2 separate regions of the Homo sapiens genome follow, and region 2 is linked to region 1. Evidence: promoter capture Hi-C in human tissues and cell types (Jung and others, 2019). All regions are on one chromosome and are shown on one strand. Each heading gives the region's core, a stretch centred on a gene start or on the middle of the fragment in contact. The rest is flanking DNA. Distances are from core to core; before and after follow the strand shown. Region 1 holds the start of DSCR4 (Down syndrome critical region 4). Region 2 has its middle 95 kb from the start of KCNJ6.

Evidence for each region. Contacts are between HindIII fragments. The study calls those that stand out against the background at their distance.
Region 2: a fragment that was not itself captured here is called in contact with the fragment with the promoter of DSCR4 in region 1 in 2 of the 25 tissues and cell types used here (aorta and heart left ventricle).

Annotation. Positions count from the first base shown.
Region 1 is chr21:38,119,641-38,126,154 of GRCh38, reverse strand. It overlaps DSCR4 (Down syndrome critical region 4), which reads left to right and starts at 4,795. Exons shown (of 3, transcript NR_147130.1): 1 at 4,795-5,027; 2 at 5,747-5,848. DSCR8 (Down syndrome critical region 8) reads right to left here and starts at 4,704. Exons shown (of 3, transcript NR_026842.1): 1 at 4,554-4,704; 2 at 3,744-3,843. The HindIII fragment of the contact is 7,375 bases long and covers 3,212-6,514 here.
Region 2 is chr21:38,008,353-38,014,345 of GRCh38, reverse strand. No RefSeq gene overlaps it. Among named protein-coding and RNA genes, the nearest start is that of KCNJ6, 95 kb to the right of the region's middle. The HindIII fragment of the contact is 5,050 bases long and covers 661-5,710 here.

The DNA of each region.
Region 1 (6,514 bases), core at 3,546-6,045:
CTTGTAAGAAAATAAAACAAGCACACGAATGACAAGGTCGAAAGTGGTGAGTGCCAGAAACAAGCACAAAGTAAGGGCTGTAGAAGGAGCACCTCTCACTTATGTTTCTTCTGAGCCATGAACTAATCGCTTGAGACATAACAGTGAGTTTGGAAAGAAGCACATTTCCTAGGTAGCATATTGGAAAACAGTATCATCCCTGAAGAAGCCACTGTAATAGTGGATTTCCAAATGATTTGTAATTTTTTTAAGGTTTTGTTCACTGATGGGTCCATTCACCTGTAACAGAACCTGGTACATAGCGGCCTTCAGAAAATATCAGTTGGGATGAACTAAATTGTTCTTTAAAATGTTCAATAGAAAAGAAATCTGTCATCTTCAAGTGTAATAAGCACTTATAAAATCCAGTAGTTACGCCCTCCCACACACAAAGTTTAAGACATTTAGCAGTGTTATTGAATTTGATATTTTACAAATGCCTTTAACCCTAGAAGAATGAATGATATGGATGCTTTGCAGCCTCTAACTTGATGAAGACCACCATAATGGATGTGTAACCATGTATAAGAATGTTCCATGTCAAAAGATAAATCAGAACAAAACAAAAAACAGAAAATAACAAGTGCTATCAAGGATGTGGAAAAACTTCTGCGCACTGCTATTGGGAATATAAAATGGTGCAGCCACCACAGAAAAGAATATGGTGGTTCCACAGAATTAAACATAGAATTGCTGTATAATCCAGGATCCCATTTTTTGCATATATAGCTCAAAGAACTGCAAGCAAAGATTGAATAAATACTTGTACACCTATATTCACAGCAGTATTATTCACAACAGCCAAAAGGTAGAAGCAACCCAAGTTTGCATCAACAGATGAACAGAAAAACAATATGTGGTCTGTTCATACAATGGAATATTATTCAGCCTTAGAAATTTCGGAAAGGAATTCCAAGACATGCTATTAATACAACATGGATGAACCTTGAAGACATTATGGTAAGTGGAATAAGCCAGTCACAAAAGGACAAATACCGCATGATTCTACCTATGTGAAGTACCTAGAGTAGTCAAATTCCTAGAGGCAAAGCAGAATGGTGGGTGCCAGGGGCTTACAGGAAAAGAGAACGGGGCATTATTGTGTAATGGGTACACAGTTCCAATTTTGGAGGATAAAAAAAGGTTCTGGAGGTGGATGGTAGGGATAGCTGCACAACAATGCAAATGTACTTAATGCCATTAGGCTGTACACTTAAAAAATGGTTAAAATGATACACTTTATGTTATGTATATTTTAACATAAGTATGTTATGTAATTTTTTAAAAACCAATTTTTTTTTGAAAATTACATATGTTTAAAACATATGTTTTAAAAATTACATATGTTATGTAATTTTTTAAAAACCAATTTTTTTTCCTTTTTTTTTTGAGACGGAGTCTCGCTCTGTCTCCCAGGCTGGAGTGTAGTGGTGCGATCTTGGCTCACTGCAAGCTCCGCCTCCTGAGTTCACGCCATTCTCCTGCCTCAGCCTCCTGAGTAGCTGAAACCAATTTTTGTAAGTTCCAGGTACACAAGAAGACTTATATTCTCATGTGTATTAACAATGGAAGTAAAATAATCAGTAGTTTGGTATCTGTTCCCCTCCTCCTGTGCAGTAAAATGGAAGATAAAAGCAACATTAATGTTCATACTTGGAATTATTAAGTAAATCCAAATTTTTAAGATTAAAAACAAGGGTAGACAAAAGTAGCAAATCTTGGCGAGCTCTGAGACAGAAATCTCTAAATCTTATATTAAGTGAAAAACTTCAATTTAAACAAAAGCAAAAGGAAACCCGAGTTGATGCAGAGACATTAACAGCTCATGTTCAGTTTCCAAAAACTGCCAAGTTGGAACTCATTGCTCTAATCAGCACCTACTAGGAACAAGAGACAACCTGCGGTTACACTGGTTTTCAAAAAGCACATACATATGTTTATTAGCTTGACGGGGGGAACACATATGTGAATACTTGTATTTAATATTTCCTAACCTTCTGTATAATGTCCACTTTAAGGAATTGAGACTAGCTCTGATTTTGCCCCCTTTGACTTTTAGGGTCAATAAGCTTTATTAAGGGCAATTTAGTGTCACAGGAAGAGAAAATTTATAACCCTGATCAATGAGGAATACAGAGGACACAAAGGTACATACATGTGATGGAGACCTATATCAAAAATGCTGTTATCAGTCAGAGTGCTGGCAGGAAACAGATGGTACACTCAAACCAGGCAACTGAGCTAAGGTTAATGAAGGCCTATTTACACAGGTGTGGGTGGGGCTATGGGAACCAACAAGTGATACTGAGACACCCATGGGCAGCACTCCCTGGAGAGCCATTACCTCCCCTAGGGCTAATGGGACTGTAAGGAGAGAGGTCACCGGACCCCACAGAGAGCTAGAGGAGACGACTGAGGGGTAGTGAGCTTCACACAGGAATGTAGCCCCTGCCGACTTGTGGCCTTGAGAGCTCGAGCATCCGTACCTCAACCATTCTGTCCTCCTGCCCCAACTTCCTCTGTGCCTCCATGGGCCAATGGGAAGCCAGAGGGTAACAGAGCCCATGTGGGGCTGTTCGTAGAGGTCAGTGTTCTGGGGTTCAGAACATGGTGGGGAGGAGGGCAGGGAGTCTGAAGGGTCAGACACAGAATGTCAAAAACATCCTTATATGTGGTTTCATCTAGTGCTCTTAAACCAGACTCACTAACCTACTGTGTTTTAAAATACAGCTTGCCAAAGTCTGTGTTAATATTATTTAACTTTGATGTGTATCTGTGATGGTTAGTTTTGTGTGTCAACTTGACTGAGCCATGGGATACTCCTAACAGGTTGAATGTTATTTCTGGGTGTATCTGTGAAGGTGTTTCTGGAAGAGATCAGGATCTGAGTTGGTGGACTGATTAAAGCAGATGGCTCTCCTCAATGTGGCTGGGCCTCATCCAGTCCATCCAGGGTCAGAATAGAAGAAAAACGGAGAGGAAGGGAGGACTTTTTCTCTTTGCCTGATTGAGCTGGAATATTGATCTTCTGCCCTCTGTGCTTCTGGTTCTCAGGCCTTTAGACCTGGGCTGCAATCTATACCATCGGCCCTCCAGCTCTTAGGCCTTTGACTTTCATCAGCTTTCCTGGGTCTCCAGCTTGCAGAGAGCAGATCATGGGGCTTCTCAGCCTCCACAATCACATGAACCAGTACCTGATAATAAATTGGTTCTGGTTTTTCCAGAGAACCCTGATTAATATACTATCTGTGCATTCACTTAGGAGAAACAAAGTCATTAAATGTGAAAAAAAAAAAAGAACTGAGTCACTCAGAAGAATCATACTATAGTTGCCCATCATATATTATAAAGAACAAAGTATTCTAAATTATTTACGAATAAGAATTCTATAAAGAAAATGACTGATTATCTGCGCTTACACAAAATATTTCATGGAAATTTTATTACCGTGCTCTTTTTTTTTTTTAATTTAACCATCATTATGTTGTGCATTCATCATCTGGAGTTTTTAGTTGTTTAGAATTCCCTGTTGGCAGCCAAATTCCTGTCTGGGAAAATGTATGAGCCAGCCTTCATTTTCCACGATGACTTTCCAAGGAACCATTACAATTAAGAGAATGTAAGTTACTCATCTCCAATAACTGTACATGAAGCAATATTCCGAGGATTTGTTAACTGTCTTTGACAGGAGATCATCTACTCACAGTAGGTGCTTAACAAATGCCATCTTGAATGAATGAAGACCCTTTCTCACAGTAACAAAGTTGGGTCCAGGCTCCTTCATTTTTGCTCAGCAAGATGAAGCTAAGGAAACAGGAAATAAGTCATCAACCAAATCATAGTAACAAATCGTTCTATTCCATTCTCCATAATTCACCCTTCAGTCCAGGGGAACACTAACAATTGCCCCTCCAGATACAAAGAAATTGCCTCCTCTGAAGACAGCTGCCTCACCTAAGGCCACATTTCCTTCCAGGTTGCCCCACTTCCAATGAGTCACTGATTGGCAATCCATAAAGGTCAGCTCTCTTGCCTCAACTCAGCATACCTCTGACAGATCGTCCCATCTTCCCGTCTCCCTTGAGGTTTGACTGGGGTTGCTGCTGACCCAGTGATATAGGAGTTAAGAAGAAAGTACTTAGGCAGATAGTGAAGGTATGGGAGTCCTCAGTAAGGTCTTCCTTTTAATGAAAAGCAGCCCCCAAATCATTTTCTTTTCTAACAAAAAGCAACCTGGAAAATCGAGCTGCAGACACAGACAAGCAAGCTGAAAGCTTGCACAGGCAAATACCGGCAGTTGTGCCAATAAAAATATACTACCTGGGGCCGGCGCTGTGGCTCACGCCTGTAATCCCAGCTACTCAGGAGGCTGAGGCAGGAGAATCGCCTGAACTTAGGAGGCGGAGGCTGTGGTGAGCCAAGATGGCGCCATTGCACTCCAGCCTGGGCAACAAGAGCGAAACTCCGACTCAAAAAGCGACAACAGCAGCAACAACAACAACAAAAAACACTACCTGGGATTAGGCATGTTCTAAATGGCAGCTCCATCTTCTCTTTTTGCCACCCATGTTTACAGAAACGAGTGGACAAGACGGCCCCTGCCAAGTGGGAAGCCTATTTGCATAACAAGATTAGGGTGGGGTGACCAGCCTTCCCTGCGCGCTACGTAAACGTCACCCCTGGTCGAACCAATCTCTGGGCTCCACGTAAATCAGACACCGCCTCCTCAAGCCTGCCCGTAAAACCTGCTGCCGTCAGTCACGGGCCAGCCTTTCCCTTAAGGATGTCTGAGAGCTGGTCTCCTCACTCTTTTCTTCCGCCTATTAAACTTTCCGCTTCTTAACTCACCCATGTGTGTCCATGTCGTTAATCATCTTGACGAGAGATGATGAACCCCGGATATTTACCCCAGACAGTGATGCCGCTTCACCAGCATTGCACTCTACTTCCCCGCTTCCTGATCCTGCCTCAGCTTCTCCTCTCCACAGGTATTGATCCCAAGAACAACCCGTAAGAAATGTCCTGCACGCTAATCTCCATCTCAGAGTCAGCTTCCCAGGGAATCCAGCAATTACGAAGCATTCAGCTTAATTTTGTTGATTGCTTTATGATTTTGTGTGTGTGTGTGTGTTTTAATGTTGAAATGTAACATATATTCAAAAGTGTGGATAAAGTCTCCATGACGATTAGTTTCCTGTGTCATCATGGGGGCCAGGCTTTAGTGCCTTTTTTTTTTTTTTTTTTTTTTTTTTTTTGTGGTGAGACAGAGTTTTGCTCTTGTCACCCAGACTGGAATGCAGTGGCGCGATCTCGGTTCACTACAACCTCCTGGGTTCAAGTGATTCTCCTGCTTCAGCCTCCCAAGTAGCTGGGATTACAGGTGCCCGCCACCAAGCCAGGCTAATTTTTGTATTTTTAGTACGGATGGGGTTTCACCATGTTGGCCAGGCTGGTCTTGAACTCCTGACCTCAAGTGATCTTCCTGCCTCGGCCTCCCAAAGTGCTGGGATTACAGGCGTGAGCCACTGCACCCGGCCTTTACTGCCCATTTATTTAATCAAACACTAATCTAGGTAGTGCTGCAAAGGTATTTTGTAGATGTAGTTAACATCTACAATCAGTTGGCTTTACATAAATCTTACTTTTCATACTGTGAATGGGCCTTATACAATCAGAAGCCTTAAGAGCAAAAACTGAATTTTCCTAGAGAAGAAAAAATTCTGCCTAAAGTCTGCAACATCGTTTCCTGCCTGAGTTTCAGCCTGCCAGCTTCTCCTACGGATTCTGGACTTGCCAGCCCCACAATCATGTAAGCCAATATGCTAAAATAAATTTCTTAATATAATTCTTAATGTATATATCCTTTTGATTCTGTTTTTCTGGAGAAATCTGGCTTATACAGGCTCTTAACATGATTGTTTATCTGTCAATTTTTATTTTATGGCTATGTTATTAGGTATAAACAAATTTACGATTATTTCATATTAAACCTGAAACGTTGATTATTCTGAAACGAGCCAGTCTTTGCTTTGGTTTTGTAACTTTTGCTTTGCATAGTAGTTTTACCATCCCTTACTTACTTTCAACCTGTCGATATCTTTATATTTAAAGTAAGCAGCTTGTTTAGCTTTGCTTGATATTATTACCTTCTCTGATGAGCTTTATATTTCAATTTCAATATTTAGTCTGTTTATATTTACTGTAATTCAAGGTTAAATCTACCATCTTACCATTGATTCCTATTTTCTCTGTTCTATGATTTTTTTTGTCCTTCCTTAAAGTTTTTGGGCTTATTTAAATTTTTCTAATTACATTTCTTCTTCTATTAGCTTGTTATTTATATGTTTTTTTAAAAAATTGGTGTTTTCTCTAATTGGTGCAACATGCATTCTTGACTTACTAAAGTGCTATCGGTGTGTGTTTTAAAGGCGCTACTGTAAATGTGTATACAAGTAATTTTTATCTAGATTTACCA
Region 2 (5,993 bases), core at 1,936-4,435, 110 kb after region 1:
TTTCCCACATGTGGTCCCTAGCTTTATAGCAGAATCAACACCTATCATTACAGCATATACGTACATGTGACATTTTGTAGTGACTTATGGCTTATAAAACACATTCCCATATGCTGTCTAGCACTTATAGCAGCCAAATCATACAATGAACTCATTTCAAAAATGTTAATCATTAGACCCTCTAGTCTTTTTTGTAGATGTCATTGCTGAAAAACTTCTCACTTCTCTATATTTGCGAGGAGAGTTTTAGGATGCCAGGGCAGCTTCATGAAGTAGTGAATCATGATAAGTTTCATTTTGAAGGATTCCTGTTCTCATTCAGGGTGGCCCAGATTCTCACAGACATCCCCTGCCTCGATCCCAGCTGCAAAGCAAGCACGAATTTGAATCACTGGGCAAGAGCAGAGTCTTGTGGTTAGGAGCCTGGGCAATGGAATCAGAAAAACTGGGTCCAGATTTTTGCTCCAACCCTTTGCCATCTTGGGTATACTTCCGTTCTTTGCCTCCATTCCCTTGGATAATAATAGGTTCATTACAAGACCTATGTTCTGTGGGTATTAAGTGAGATCATCCTACAGAGTCCTCTGCACACAGCTGGGGCATGGTTAGCACTTACTCACTGTCACTTATGTTTACTATTGCTGCTGGTAATATTTTGGGTGTCACTGATACCTGTTTCCAGAGTATTTGTTGATAATATTGAAGACAAGCGCTATTGCACACCAAAAGAAAACTCCCCCATACAGACACCAACTCATTTATTAATCATTTAACATAAAAATTGGTTTCTTAATTTATTTTGAATATGATCTCTTCAAATTTTTCATATTTTCATATTTATCTAACCTATAAGCCTAGTAATACATTCTTTTTCAACCTTTTAAAAAATTTTAAGTTATTTTGCTTTTATCGTAAACTTATAACCTATTAATAAAGCCCTTAAAATGTTCTACAAATTCATTTCTTATTAAGACAATCAAAACGGAGTTTCAGTCAGTTATAGATGATTTGGTCCAAAATGTCTTTGTCTAAACACAAATGTGTGAATGAATGAAGAGAGAGAGAACTCATTATTCTTCCTAGCCTGTTATTAATCTGGATATGCATTTCAGTGTATGCATCCTGGTTGGAATGGTGACTTACAAATCCATGTTCACAAACTGAAGAGCAAAAGAGAAATTTCAGAAATCATGGTGGATTTAATGACCTTAAACTGACATGCAAACTGTCTGACAAGGAATGTGATTTAGGAATTTCTTCCATCCAAATCTTAAGGAATTGATAGAAAATGAGGTGTAGCTGTTAATGGTGCTGTTATGCAGGAAACAACTCCCAACCGCATGAATACAGAAAAAGAATGAAACTCAAATGCAAAACCAGCATCAGGCACTGAGGACGGCAGCGTCACAGCAAACATTCACAGTGCAGCTTGCATAATGAAGCAGGGACAGCTTATTCTGCAGCAAAGATGCTGACTATACTAATTCTAGAAAGCCTGACAAAGCTCTGACCAGCTTCCATGAGGCATAGCATTTACCAGAAACAGCAGGGGAATTGTGACTCTCAAGTTGAACGAGACATGTTATCCCTTTATTTTGCCAGAAGTTCTGATTTCTCTCTTTGTTCAGTCCTGCACAGCTGATGTGAATAACAGTGTCTAGACTGAAGGACACACGAACAATTGTGTTAAATTACTTTTGAAGTCTGTTTGAGAATACATACCTAACTGTTGATGTCTGTTTGCATATATGTTGCCATCATTTTTTGCAGTTGCTCCTCCCAAGCCTAGGAATCCTAACAGCTCCCCACTCTTGCTAGCTCCAAAGTACTGCACTACCCCAAGAGTCTCCTTCCACTTGCCCGTAGCTCTGTGAATAAATGTCTTAACGTGTCCTCGGTTGCTTCACTTGAGTGTGTCATGTTTTCTACCAGGACTCTGATACAGCCTTCCTTCTTCATCGTTTTAAAAAATGTAGAATAAAGAAAGAACCATAACTGTAAGACATTTAAGGACTCTGTTTTGTTGGGCACCTCAATATGTGGATTACACAGTAACCCCAGGAGGAGGGCCTATTGTATTGTTGCTTAGTTATTCTGCTTAAACTACCACAGATAAAAGCACATATTTGATAATCATGGCTAGTATTCTTTCGCAGCGAAAATGAGTTCCAGAAATTTGAAACAAGTGATTTAAATTAGGTAATTATATTGTATTCAAGAATGAGAGATATAAGACCTTTAAAAACTACTAATCTGTCCAGACCATCCTGGCTAACACGGTGAAACCCCGTCTCTACTAAAAATACAAAAAATTAGCCGGGTGTGGTGGCGGGCGCCTGTAAATCCAGCCACTCGGCAGGCTGAGGCGGGAGAAGGGCATGAACCCGGGAGGCGGAGCTTGCAGTGAGCCGAGATGGCGCCACTGGACTCCAGCCTGGGTGACAGAGCGAGACTCCATCTCAAAAAAAGAAAAAAAAAAACTACTAATCTGCACTTTGGGAGGCCGAGGCAAGCAGATCACCTGAGGTCAGGAGTTTGAGACGAGCCTAGCCAACATGGTGAAACCCTGTCTCTACTAAAAATACAAAAATTAGCTGGGCATGATGGCAGGCGCCTGTAATCCCAGCTACTCAGGAGGCTGAGGCAGGAGAATCGCTTGAACCCGGGAGGCAGAGGTTGCAGTGAGCCGAGATCATGCCACTGCACTCCAGCCTGGGCGACAGAGCAAGACTTCATCTAAAAAAAAAAAAAAAATTACTAATCTGAAAGATGGGTGAGGAGGGAGATAATTGCAGTGATCCAAAGGTAAACCTATATCTGAAGCCCATTTAGTTTAGTTTCAACAAGCTTGGTTTCTCAGATTCAACGAGTGCCCTGTGGTGACATAAGACGGTCACATTAAGGGAACAGAACCTGGGTGAGGGAGATCCAAGGGGAGCTCTCAACACTCTCTTTGCAACTTTTCCGTAAATCTAGAACTCTTCCAAATTTTAAGTTTATTTATTAAAAAAACTCAGCCTAAGGAAATACAAAACTTTCCATATTAACAATTTTCATTATAAGTCATTTGACCTGTACTCACACATTGATAACTAAGAAAACAGAGTATTCTGAAAAAAAACTTAATTTTCAAAAGGGGAAATCGTATAAGCAAGCTTCTGAGAAGCAGTCATCAAGGTTTTTTTCCCTGCTTTATTTCTTGGTTATTTTTTAGGTTTTATAAAACAAACTTGTATTAATATAATTTAAAATGATATTTTATGATATCATCAGGTATGATATAATATTTCATATACAGAGTGCCAAGATATATTGAATATATGTTTCAATATAAAATATTTTATATTTTAATATGATGTGATATTTTATAACAATTCATTTCAGTTTTAGTTTTTAAAAGTAAAAAAGCTCCTTGTGGGGAAAAGAGTGTCCACTGCTGAGTATACTTCCAGCCCCACCTACCCTTTCATCCTATAATGGAAGAACGCCTATTGTCCAAAAGTTCCTTCTTCTTTTTTTTTTAATTTTATTATTATTATACTTTAAGTTTTAGGGTATGTGTGCACAACGTGCAGGTTTGTTACATATGTATACATGTGCCATGTTGGTGTGCTGCACCCATTAACTCGTCATTTAGCATTAGGTATATCTCCTAATGCTATCCCTCCCCTCTCCCCCCACCCCACAACAGTCCCCGGTGTGTGATGTTCCCCTTCCTGTGTCCAAAAGTTCCTTCTTAGGTATGGGGATCTCAGCAGTTTCATTTCAGTGGCCACAGCTTGGGAAACAGACTTCTCCCAATATCAAAGGGAATCAAGTCCCCCTTTTTTTCTCCAGGCCTCGGTCTGCAGCATCTGTGATGCATCAGGTGGGTTTTGTCTGGGGTTTCTCTCTCCCTTTTCCAGCCACTGATTGTGCTGCTGGAAATGAAAAGCAGCCCCTCATTCTAGAAAAACTGGTGCTCCATCAACAAGAGGTGCAAGGACATTTGTAATAAGGAAGAAACACACTGCTTAGCTACAACAAAAGTGGGCAGAAAGTGATGAATAGGTAGAAAAGCAGGCTTTCAGTTCACAGCTAACATTTTTGGAGTGTTGATAAACGGCAGGAGCTAACTACTCCAAGTGCTGTACAAATGGTACCTCCCAGCAACCCCATAAAGTGAGTATTGCTGTCAACATCATCCTCATTTTACAAATGAAGAAACTGAGGCACGGAGAGATTAAATGGCAGTAAAACAAGAAGCTGGAATTTGAACAGAGACATCCTCATTCTAAGACATGAGCTCCTAACATCTGGGCTATAATGATCATTGCCAGTACCTGAGCATGGAATATCTATCACAAGAGGAAAAAAAAATCTAAATGAATGTCTATTATTCATTAAAAAATCACAAGGCCATCTTGTTTGCTTTTTCTGAAAGAAGAGCACGTAGTTTCATATGTAGCTTGAGTATACTTAATGGTTTTAATGGACCTATTTGACAGTCTCATAATTTATTGAATTCACACATGTGAAAACAAAAATCCCCTCAGGCCATTTTGGATCACAGCTTTCTCACCATCATTAACAGTGGTTTCTTATCCTCCTGATTCCCCCTTCACACGGATTTAATAACAGCGTTTGACTCTCATTATTATGTCTCATTTTCTAGGCAATCTGTCATGTCTATTGTTTATCATCTCATCATCAGAGAAAGCCAGTAGGTCTTCCTCGTATTAAATCTTGTGCAAGCGGGCAATTGGTTTATGATCTATAACAAAATTGCTCAGCTCATTCTTGTGATCAGTCAAGTGATGAACAAGTATTCTCTGTGTTTTAAAAGGGAATTGTTTTCTGCTTTTCTCAACCTTATCTCCCTTGGCATCTCCACATGAAATTGATTTCAGCCAAAGTGGTCTACTTCCCGACTCCTGAAATGCAGTTTTCCTGTGGCTCCCTCCCTCATCTCTGTGTGCCATTATCGTCCTCCATTCAGCCCTCCGCTCTGGGGCTATTCCAGCCAAGAGTCATATATTCGAATTCCTATGGCAACCACTAGTTTATGTTCCTGCAATATCTCTTCTGGTGTTGTCTGAAACACTTATCACAATGTCATACTCGTTTAACTTTTTTGTGTTACTGTGCTGAAATCTACAGAGTGTAACTTTCTTGAGGCAAGGACTGGAGTCTGTCTCCTTTTACCTCCTGGAGCATACTGCCTTCTCCATAGAGGAGGGCCATAAATTTGTTCATTTATGGATTCACTCCAGATCTCTGGCTCCTCTCTGCCTCAATGCAGGCTTCCCAATGGAACAATAAGGCAGCCATCTCCTTCACACCCCACATCCAGCCCACCGGCAAAGCCTTCCGGCTCCACTGTTAAAACAGCCAGAATCTGACCACTTCTCTCACTTCCACCGCCACCATCCTGCATTAATGCAGCAGCCTCTTCAGTAAGATCCTGCCCCCCCTGCTTGTAAGTCCTGTACAAGATTCTTTATAGAGCAGCCAGAGTGGTCTTTTTAAACAGCTTTATGAAAATATAATTAATTCACATATCCTATAACTCACCCATTTAAAATGTACAAGTCAGTTTTTTTTAGTGCATTTACAAAGTTATGCAACCACCACCACAGTTAGAATACCTTCAATACTCCAAAAAGAAACCCATTCCCCTTAGTCCTCACCCCTTCATTCCCTACTTCCTCAAGGCCCTGGCCTTCACTAATCTGCTGTCTGTCTCATTGAAATGTCTGGACATTTCACATAAACAGTATCACACAGCACATGGCCTGCTGGGTCTGGCTTCTTTCACTTAGCATAATGTCCTCAAGATTCATTCATACATGTCATAGTATTTATCAGTTCTTGACTACTTTTTATTGCCAATTAATATTCCCTTGTATGGATATACCACATTTTATGTATCCATTCATCAGCTAATGGTTATTTTTGGTTGTGCCTTTTTGGCTATATGAAAATCCTGCTATGAACATTTGTGAACAAGTTTC